Linked DNA regions of Homo sapiens: region 2 is linked to region 1. Evidence: promoter capture Hi-C in 16 types of primary human blood cells and fetal thymus (Javierre and others, 2016). All regions are on one chromosome and are shown on one strand. Each heading gives the region's core, a stretch centred on a gene start or on the middle of the fragment in contact. The rest is flanking DNA. Distances are from core to core; before and after follow the strand shown.

Region 1 (4,586 bases), core at 1,285-3,784:
AAAAAAGTGTATTTTCAGCATTAGATGGAAGATAATATCAAGAAACAAAATCTTTTCCTATGTAAGAGCTTTAATACTTACCTTGTGCAAAATGTTGTGAGTTAATATCGTGGTTTCAGGGGAACAATTTTTCTCCTCAAATCTTTAGAGTTATTTCCAGAATTTCAAAGCCTATTTCAAAAACTATAGTTTTGTCTAAAGTACAATCAGCTCTGTGAATGGAAGGGTTGCGGAAGGGAGAGTGTTCACACTGAGAGATGAGATAGTTATCTGCTTCCAATGCCAATGCATAACATGAATGCTGTCGAGTTTTTTTTAAAAAAGCTTGAGATTTGTAATGCCAAAAAAAAAAACCTCTAATGATTTTTTTAAAAGTTGAAACAAGATGAATTTAATTACTGAGCTGCTCACAATAACTAGGAAACAATTCCTCTGTTATAAATTGTATTTATGTATTTTTCCCATGCAAAAAGTACAGGAATTATGAAACACAAATGATTAGAATTGTACGTTAGATTTACATAGTGAATCTGAATAGAAATAACTCCTTTTCTTGGATAATAATATTTTACTTTAAATTAGGTTGTTATACTATTAAAGGAATCCAGATATATAAAGTTGTTATATTTTTCATCACAAAAGTATTTTTTAATGTAAAAAATTGTCACACTGTGTTTCATTATAAGGATTCATAAATTTGCCTCTTTTATTTTAATTTTTTACAGCTCTTTTTGAAGTACATTTTTTTTCTTTGAGACAGGGTCTTGCTCTGTTGTCCAGGCTGGAGTGCAGTGGCATGAATTTAGGTCAGCACAGCCTGGAACTCCTGGGCTCAAGCGATTGTCCTGCTTTGGCCTCCCAAAGTGTTGAAATTACAGTTGTGAGCCACTTCGCCTGGTCCAATTGCCTCTTTTAAAAAGAATTGTGTTTAGAAAAAGTGCTTGTTCATACCTGTTGAGGAGCACAGCTATCAGGAGAGCAAATGATTTTTTAAAAATATTTATTTATTTATTTATTTTTATTATTTTTTATTTTCTGAGACGGAGTCTTGCTCTATCACCCAGGCTGGAGTGCAGTAGTGCGATCTGCAACCTCCACTTGCTGGATTCAAGTGATTCTTGTGCCTCAGCCTCCTGAGTAGCTGGGATTACAGGCATGCTCCACTTTGCCCGGCTAATTTTTGTGTTTTTAGTACAGACGGGGTTTTGCCATGTTGCCTAGGCTGGTCTCGAACTCCTGACCTCAGGTGATCCACCCGCCTCGGCCTCCCAAAGTACTAGGATCAAGGCGTGACGACTATGCGTGGCCACAAATAATTTTTAAATCAATATTTAGAACACATTTAGGGTGAGTGTTTAGAGCTTGACAACTTTCTCATTGAAGATTATTCCGTTTAAGATTCAACAGCTCAAGAGTCTGCAAATCTAGATCCTTAACCAGAACTTGCTTTTATATCTTTTCCTTACAAGAAGAATACCCAGGCTGGGACTTCAAGGCCCCAGAGAGGCAGTGCAGCAAGTTCCTGGGTTCAAATCATCCTTCAGCTACTTCTTAGCTGTGAGACCTTGGGCAAGTTACCTAGCCTTTCTATGCCCCAGTTTCTTCATCTGTAATTTGGGGCTAGTAATCTCTTCTTCATAGGTTTGTTGCAAGATTAAATTAATTTACATTAAGGGCCAGGTGTGGTGACTCATGCCTGTAATCCCAGCACTTTGGGAGGCCAATGCGGGCAGATCACCTGAGGTCAGGAGTTCGAGACCAGTCTGGCCAACATGGCAAAACCCAGTCTCTACTAAAAATACAAAAAAATTAGCTGGGCGTGTTGGCGCACTTATAATCCCAGGTACTGGGGAGGCTGAGGCAGGGGAATCTCTTGAACCTGGGAGGTGGAAGTTGCAGTGAGCCAAGATCACGCCACTGCACTCCAGCCTGGGCGACAGAGCAAGACTCCATCTCCAAAACAAAACAAAACTAATTACTTTAAGAATTAGAACAGTTTATGACTGGTACATAGTAGATCCTCATTAGACACTAAAAATTATAATTACAATTGTTAATTATAATTATTTATTATTATAATTATATGAGCAATTATAGGAAAGCTCTCACTCTTTCTAAAGAATTTGCGTGAATAAAGGAAGACTAATTTTCTCAATGTCTTTTTAGTACACTCAGAATTTTCGGTACAGCAAATAATTTTCAGTGAAGTCAAAATTATTTAGATAAAGTCTTCTCTTCGTGCCCTAGCAGAAAATGTTCAGAAACAAAATGAAATAAAGAGACAAAGGAAAAAAAAAACTGGCAAAGGGTCAGGTTTTGAGAATTGTTTTCAAGAAGTCATTGTATTCAGATTGGTGGAGCAGGCTACTGTAAACCGTAAGTAGGAAATGAGAACCCGTTGTAAGTTGATAAAATGGATGTCTTTTCAACTAAACAGATTGCTATCAGCCTAACAGAGCCAACTCATGTTCCTTTTCGGCCGGTCATTTCCTGTACTAAGTGTCTATAAGAGCCGCCCATTTGGGTGTTTCTCAGGATTATAGGTTTTTAGGTCACGCAGAAACCCTGGGGAACGCCTGAAAAGGCTAAACACAAGCAGTTACATTATGCACAAGCTGGATGACGTGACCCCGCTGCTGCTGTGTGGAGAGGGAGGCTGCTGAACCCGAGCTGGTGTGAGCTTCTCTTGCCGTAAGTCCACGGGTGGCCAGGAGCACGTGTTAGTCTGGTTAAGAGCTCTGCTCAGAAGTAGCCGCTGCAGCTGAAGGTTTTCAGGCGGGCTGAAGGCTGGGCCGCTTCTTCATTCATTTCAGAAACTTGAACAGTGGGCCTTCTACACACGCTGTCTTTGTCAGCCTCAGGCAGTTCCTCCATGGATGAGACACAGGGGCCTCTGGCCATGACTGTCCATCTTCTTGCCAACTCTGGGCACGGCTCCCTTCTGCAGAGGACTCTGGACCAGCTCCTGGATTGCATTTGCCCAGAGGTCCGGCTCTTTCAGGTGTCTGAACGGGCCAGTCCTGTGAAATACTGTGAAAAGTCCCATTCCAAGCGGTCCCGGTTTCCAGGGATGTCCGTGTTGCTCTTCCTGCACGAAAGCCCGGGAGAGGATAGGCTATTTCGCGTCCTGGACTCTCTCCAGCATTCGCCATGGCAGTGCTACCCCACCCAGGACACTCGGGGAAGGCTGTGTCCCTACTTTTTTGCCAATCAGGAGTTCTACAGCCTGGACAGTCAGCTGCCCATCTGGGGGGTGAGGCAGGTGCACTGTGGCTCCGAGATCCTGAGGGTGACGCTGTACTGCAGTTTTGATAACTATGAAGACGCCATCAGACTCTACGAGATGATCCTGCAGAGAGAAGCGACCTTGCAAAAGAGCAATTTTTGTTTCTTCGTGCTCTATGCCTCCAAGAGCTTTGCTCTGCAGCTCTCCCTGAAGCAGCTGCCCCCGGGAATGTCAGTGGACCCCAAAGAGTCTTCGGTGCTGCAGTTTAAGGTTCAAGAGATCGGCCAGTTAGTGCCTCTGCTACCCAATCCATGCATGCCTATCAGCAGCACCAGGTGGCAGACTCAGGACTACGATGGCAACAAGATTCTGCTTCAGGTATTTCTGTTTTGTCTCAGATCTTGTAGAGGCTCATGGAGCTGTGTAATTTTACATCGGAATGGGCCTAAGCTAGTGGTTCTCAGACTTGGTTGCATATTAGCGTCCCTTAGGGTCTTTCATAAATTCCCACCCCAGGGCAGTTTGATCCGAATCTCTGGGAACATCCAGGCCTAGGTAACTTTTTTACAGCTTCTTGGATGACTGTAATCTGTAACAGGGTTGAGAATCACTGATCTCATAAAATCTCATCTGACAGATAAGAAAGTTCAGATTCCATGAATTTGCAGCTGACACAAGTACTTTATAGTAGAATCAGACAGGATTCTACTATAAAGATCAGAATCCTATTAAAGAATCGGCCTCCTTTCTCAGGCTTGCCGTTTAAATGCCCATCAACTATACCCCTATCCTTTGTTTACTCTTTGGGCTCAGGAATGTCACAAGCTCTTCTAATCTGACTTAAGGAAGTTGAAGTCATACTTATGTTTAGATATGGTTTTTTTAATTTTTAATTTTTTTATTTTTTAGAGATGGGAGTCTTCCTCTGTTGCCCAGACTCGAGTGCGGTGGTGCCATCATAGCTCCCTGAGGTCTTCACCTTCTGGGTTCAAGTGATCCTCCTGCCTTAGCCTCCTGATTAGCTGGGACTACAGGCACGTGCCGCCATGTCTGGCTATTTTATTTTATTTCTAGAGACGGGGTCTCACTATGTTGGCCGAGCTTGTTTAGGGATGTTAAGTTTGCAGTACTATTGACTTAATTTTTATTCTTTATTATTATACTTTAAGTTCTGGGGTACATGTGCACAAAGTGCAGGTTTGTTACACAGGTATACATGTGCCATATTGGTTTGTTGCACCCATCAACTCGTATTGACTTAATTTTTAAGCATCTTGCATCACTGTCAAATTTTACCACATACCAAGTTAGATAGAATGCTTTCTTAAAAAAACTTGAAATTAAAGCCTTCCTTTGTAAC
Region 2 (4,582 bases), core at 912-3,411, 51 kb before region 1:
ACAGAGGGCACCAGAACAAGTTGAGGGTGAAGATATCTTTCTGAAAATGGAGAGGTAAATGAAAGCTGATGTATTAAACCTGAGACTTGAAGCCCACTTCCCCAGCAGAGCTCTCAGAATGCTGGCAGCCAGGCAGATGAATCCTCTAGGCAGATGGACTGGGTTTCCCCCAAGACAAGAGACACAGAGATGTTTACATCAGGGATGCCCTAAAGAAATGGCCCAGCCAGAGCTTTGCAAAGTGAAGATGGTGGTCGACAAACCTCACACTCAGAGCTTCCAATCTGCCTTTGGATGCCTATTGTAACAGCGAATGACAAAAGCATAAAATATGAGAGACCAAGATAGAGAAACTTACTTAGAAGCACAGAGAGACTCTTCAGGGAGAAGGAAAATGTGCAAGAACTATCTTCAGAGGGCTAACAGAAGATATGGTATCAGTGAAGCAAGAACAGGATGCTCTAAAAATAAAAGATATTTAGAGAGTTAAGAGCTCTTAGAAATTAAAAATATCATCATAGAAATGAAAGACTCAATAGAAGAATTGGGAAATCAAGTTGAGGAAATTTACTGGAAAGCAGGGAGGAAATGCGAGAAAAAAGATTGAGAACTGGCTCAGGATGTTAGATATCTAAATGGAATTCCAGAAAGAGAGAATAGAAAAAAAAAAAAAAAAAAGAAGAAGAAGAAAGGCAAAGAAACAGTTTTGTCCTAAGGCTAAATGAGTTTTTCCCATGGAACGGGCCTACCAAGTGCTCAAAGTAGACACAATACAAAGTCTATCATTATGACACAAAATTTCATAACACTAGGAACAGAGAAAAGAGCTTACAAATTTTCTGACAGAGAGTGAAAGGCTTCGTACAAATATCAAGTATCAGAATGAATGATATTCTTGACAGTAACATTGGAAGGTAAAACACAATAAGGAAGTGCATTCCAAATTCACAGGAGAATGACAGTTTCCCAACAAACATGAAAAAAGCTGCTCGATATCAGTAATAAAAGAGGACAATTGGCCGGGCACGGTGGCTCACGCCTGTAATCCCAGCACTTTGGGAGGCCGAGGTGGGTGGATTACTTGAGGTCAGGAGCTCAAGACCAGCCTGGCCAACATGGTGAAACCCCGTCTCTACCAAAAATACAAAAAAAATTAGCCAGGCATGGTGGCACACCCCTGTAATCCCAGCTACTCGGGAGGCTGAGGCAGGAGAATTGCTTGAGCCCAGAAGGCAGAGGTTGCAGTGAGCCAAGATCGTGCCACTGCACTCCAGCCTGGCCGACAGAGTGAGACTCTGTCTCAAAAAATAAATAAACAAATAAATAAATAATTAAATAAATATAAAAAATATTAACACTGCTCAGTGTTGGCAAAGATACAGGAAAACAGACACAGCTTTCAGTTGTTTGAAACAACTAAAATATACCAGGGTCCACATTACCTGCAGGAGATACCAAAGGTCATTCTGGTGTCAAATTGTTTTGTTCTGGGTTTGACATTGGACTTGAGAGTTAGAAAATCCAGGACCTTTTTCAATTCATTCACAATTAATCCAAGAAACCTGATTTATCAATTTAATGCTTATTATGTTCTGGAAGAAATGCATAGGCTTGTAATGATAATTAAGATTCAATCTCATTCTCAATGAGATCTTGGGATTCCTGCAAGTTTGGCCTTCACTTATGCAATCTGTAAAATGAAGGCATTGGGCTTAGATGACTTAGATGGTTTCTTCAGTGTCTTACAGGCTTACATGTTATATTTTTGAATTGCTATAAAGCATGTTTTGCAAATTCTGACACCAAACAATGTTTTGCATTCCTATAGCACAGATAAACCATGTTTATAGTAGCCTTACTCATTCTCCATTGGGCCTTAGGTGGTACAGTGATGTCCAAGTGACTCGTGACCTCTCACTTCTTCCACTTTTCCAGGTAGAAGATCAGCCTTGCTCAGCCTCCTGGATTAGATGTTTTAAGAAAAGGAGAATTTGCATCAAAGTTCTGACATTAATTGTTTGAGGAAAAGAGGTAGATTTCCTAAAAATTCCCCTGAAGCCCATAGGATATATTCTCTTCAAAATAATGAGTGGGCCGGGTGCAGTGGCTCACACCTGTTATCCCAGCACTTTGGAAGGCCATGGTGGGCAGATCACTTGAGGTCAGGAGTTTGAGACCAGCCTGGCCAGCATGGTGAAACCCTGTCTCTACTAAAAATACAAAAATTAGCCGGATGTGGTGGTGCATGCCTGAGGTTGCAGACAGCCGAGATGGTGCCACTGCACTCCAGCCTGGGCAACAGAGCGAGACCCTGTCTCAGAAAAAAAAAAAAAAAGTTATATCCAGTCAAAATCCTAGAATCAGGTCAATGACTGTTTTTGATTACCTATTCTAACTCTAATGGAGATATGCCAAGGAAAGTGAATAACGCAGTAAACTTTAAAAAGTAAGTTCAGACATGTTCCTTATTGGCATATTTTAAAAAGGGATTCTAACATGCAGCCTCAAATATTTCTGAGAATTAAGTAAACATGTTAAATGAAGGAAAAAAATCTCTTATTCTCATAAATGACAAAACTGTACCATAAATGCAAACCAATTTAAGAGAATTAAAATTGACTTTTAAAATAAACTAAAACTTCAAACATTATGTTAAAAAAATTTTAAAAAGGTGAGACTGAAGATTTTGAAATTAACATGTTCTATTTCACAATTTTACTTATAGAATAATCTCATCATTCATAAATATAGAAACAGGAAAGGGGCTGCTTTATTTGGGGAAAAAATATTTCTCATGGTAGTGTTTCTCGAAGTGTCATTCATGAGCTACTTTTCTCAAAATTATCTGTGATGCTTGCTAAAAACACCCTGATGTCTGGACTTCTTCCCACACCACTGAATCAGAATCTCTGAATGGTGGGCCTGGGAATATTTAAATTTAACAATATCCACAAAGTATTCTATTGCACACTAAAATTTGAAAACACTGCCTTAGACAGCTATTAAAATTTGTATGTAAATGTCACGGATGGGCAGCATTTATACACGTTAGAGTTTGTATGTATATGTGATTTTTTTAAATGGTGGTATTTTTGAGTTATTGTCCCATATAATTATTTAGTTAGTTAGTTAGTTAGTTAGTTATGTTTTTTGAGATGGAGTCTCTCTGTGTTGCCCAGGCTGGAGTGCAGTGGCGCGATCTTGGCTCACTGCAACCTCTGCCTTCCGGGTTCAAGTGATTCTCCTGCCTCAGCCTCCCAAGTAGCTGGAACTACAGGCACGTGCCACCACCCCTGGCTAATTTTTGTGTTTTTGGTAGAGAGGAGGTTTCACCATGTTGGCCAGGCTCGTCTCCAACTCCTGACCTCAAGTGATCTGCCTGCCTTGGCCTCCTAAAGTGCTGGGATTATAGGCGTGACCCACTGTGCTCAGCCAAGGATTTGTGTATTAATATTTTATTTTAAATTTTATGATTGCTTTTAGACAATTATTTCATGTCATTAAACATATATGCAAATATGTATATATATATGTATTTGTGTGTATACATATGTGTATATATATATGCACACACACACACACACATATTCCTCAAGTTTCTTATGCTACCATAAAGTTTTGTCAGGAGCTTGAGTGGCTGTAAGAGGAACCAGATAAGAGAGAACAATAGTGTATTAAGGGAAGAGAGTGCGAAGGAGAGATGAGAACCAAGAAATCCATCTATGATGACTTTGAAAATGGAATTGGAGATCTGCCTGGGGATGCCACACTCCACTTCTTCACATTCATGTGAGACATGGGGAAGGCCAAGGGTTGAGAACAGGACGCCCTTCCCATGAGAAGAGCAGTCTGATTGTCTTGAGTGGCACAGTTAAGACCCAAAAATACAGTGGTTAAAAGAAATGGGCCGGGCGTGGTGGCTCACACCTGTAATCCCAGTACTTTGGGAGGCCAAGGCGGGTGGATCATGAGGTCAAGAGATCGAGGTAATCCTGGTCAACATGGTGAAACCCCGTCTCTACTAAAAATACAAAAATTAGCTGGATATGGTGGTACGCACCTGTAGTCCCAGCTACTCGTGAGGCTGAGGAAGGAGAATCGTTTGAACCCAGGAGGCAGAGGTTGCAGTGAGCTGAGATCCTGCCACTGCACCCCAGCCTGGTGACAGAGTGAGACTCCGTCTCAAAAAAAAAAAAAAAGAAAAAAGAAAGAAAGAAAGAAATGGAATGTTGGAGGGGACTGGCAGGTGGAAAATTTCAGACTTAACATGATAAGTAATAGGAAGCCACTGTAGCTTCCAAGTGAGGTATCTATCAGACAGGTCCTGGAAAACAACTAGATAAGTAAGTTTAAATCAACCAGGGGGAAAAAAGATTAAATGCCTTTTAACAATCATAATTAAAATTAATTAAAATATCCAAAGTAGAAATATAATTTGGATTTTTCCCAACCTCGACAAAATAAAATATTTGATTCTGGATAACCACTGGTACTTGCTACTTTCAGATAATTCATTCTTATTCTAATCATGCTCCCCAGTTAAAAATATAGCATATCAGGATTTGAATCTGATTTTAAGTTC

Evidence for each region. The method cuts DNA at HindIII sites, captures the fragments that hold promoters and counts their contacts. A CHiCAGO score of 5 or more calls a contact.
Region 2: a fragment that was not itself captured here is called in contact with the fragment with the promoter of FAM124B in region 1 in 1 of 17 cell types (endothelial precursors); the score reaches 6.3 in endothelial precursors.

The regions. Positions count from the first base shown.
Region 1 is chr2:224,400,055-224,404,640 of GRCh38, reverse strand. FAM124B (family with sequence similarity 124 member B) reads left to right here and starts at 2,534. Exons shown (of 2, transcript NM_001122779.2): 1 at 2,534-3,604. The coding sequence starts at 2,873. The HindIII fragment of the contact is 5,745 bases long and covers 327-4,586 here.
Region 2 is chr2:224,450,290-224,454,871 of GRCh38, reverse strand. No RefSeq gene overlaps it. Among named protein-coding and RNA genes, the nearest start is that of FAM124B, 50 kb to the right of the region's middle. The HindIII fragment of the contact is 7,871 bases long and covers 1-4,582 here.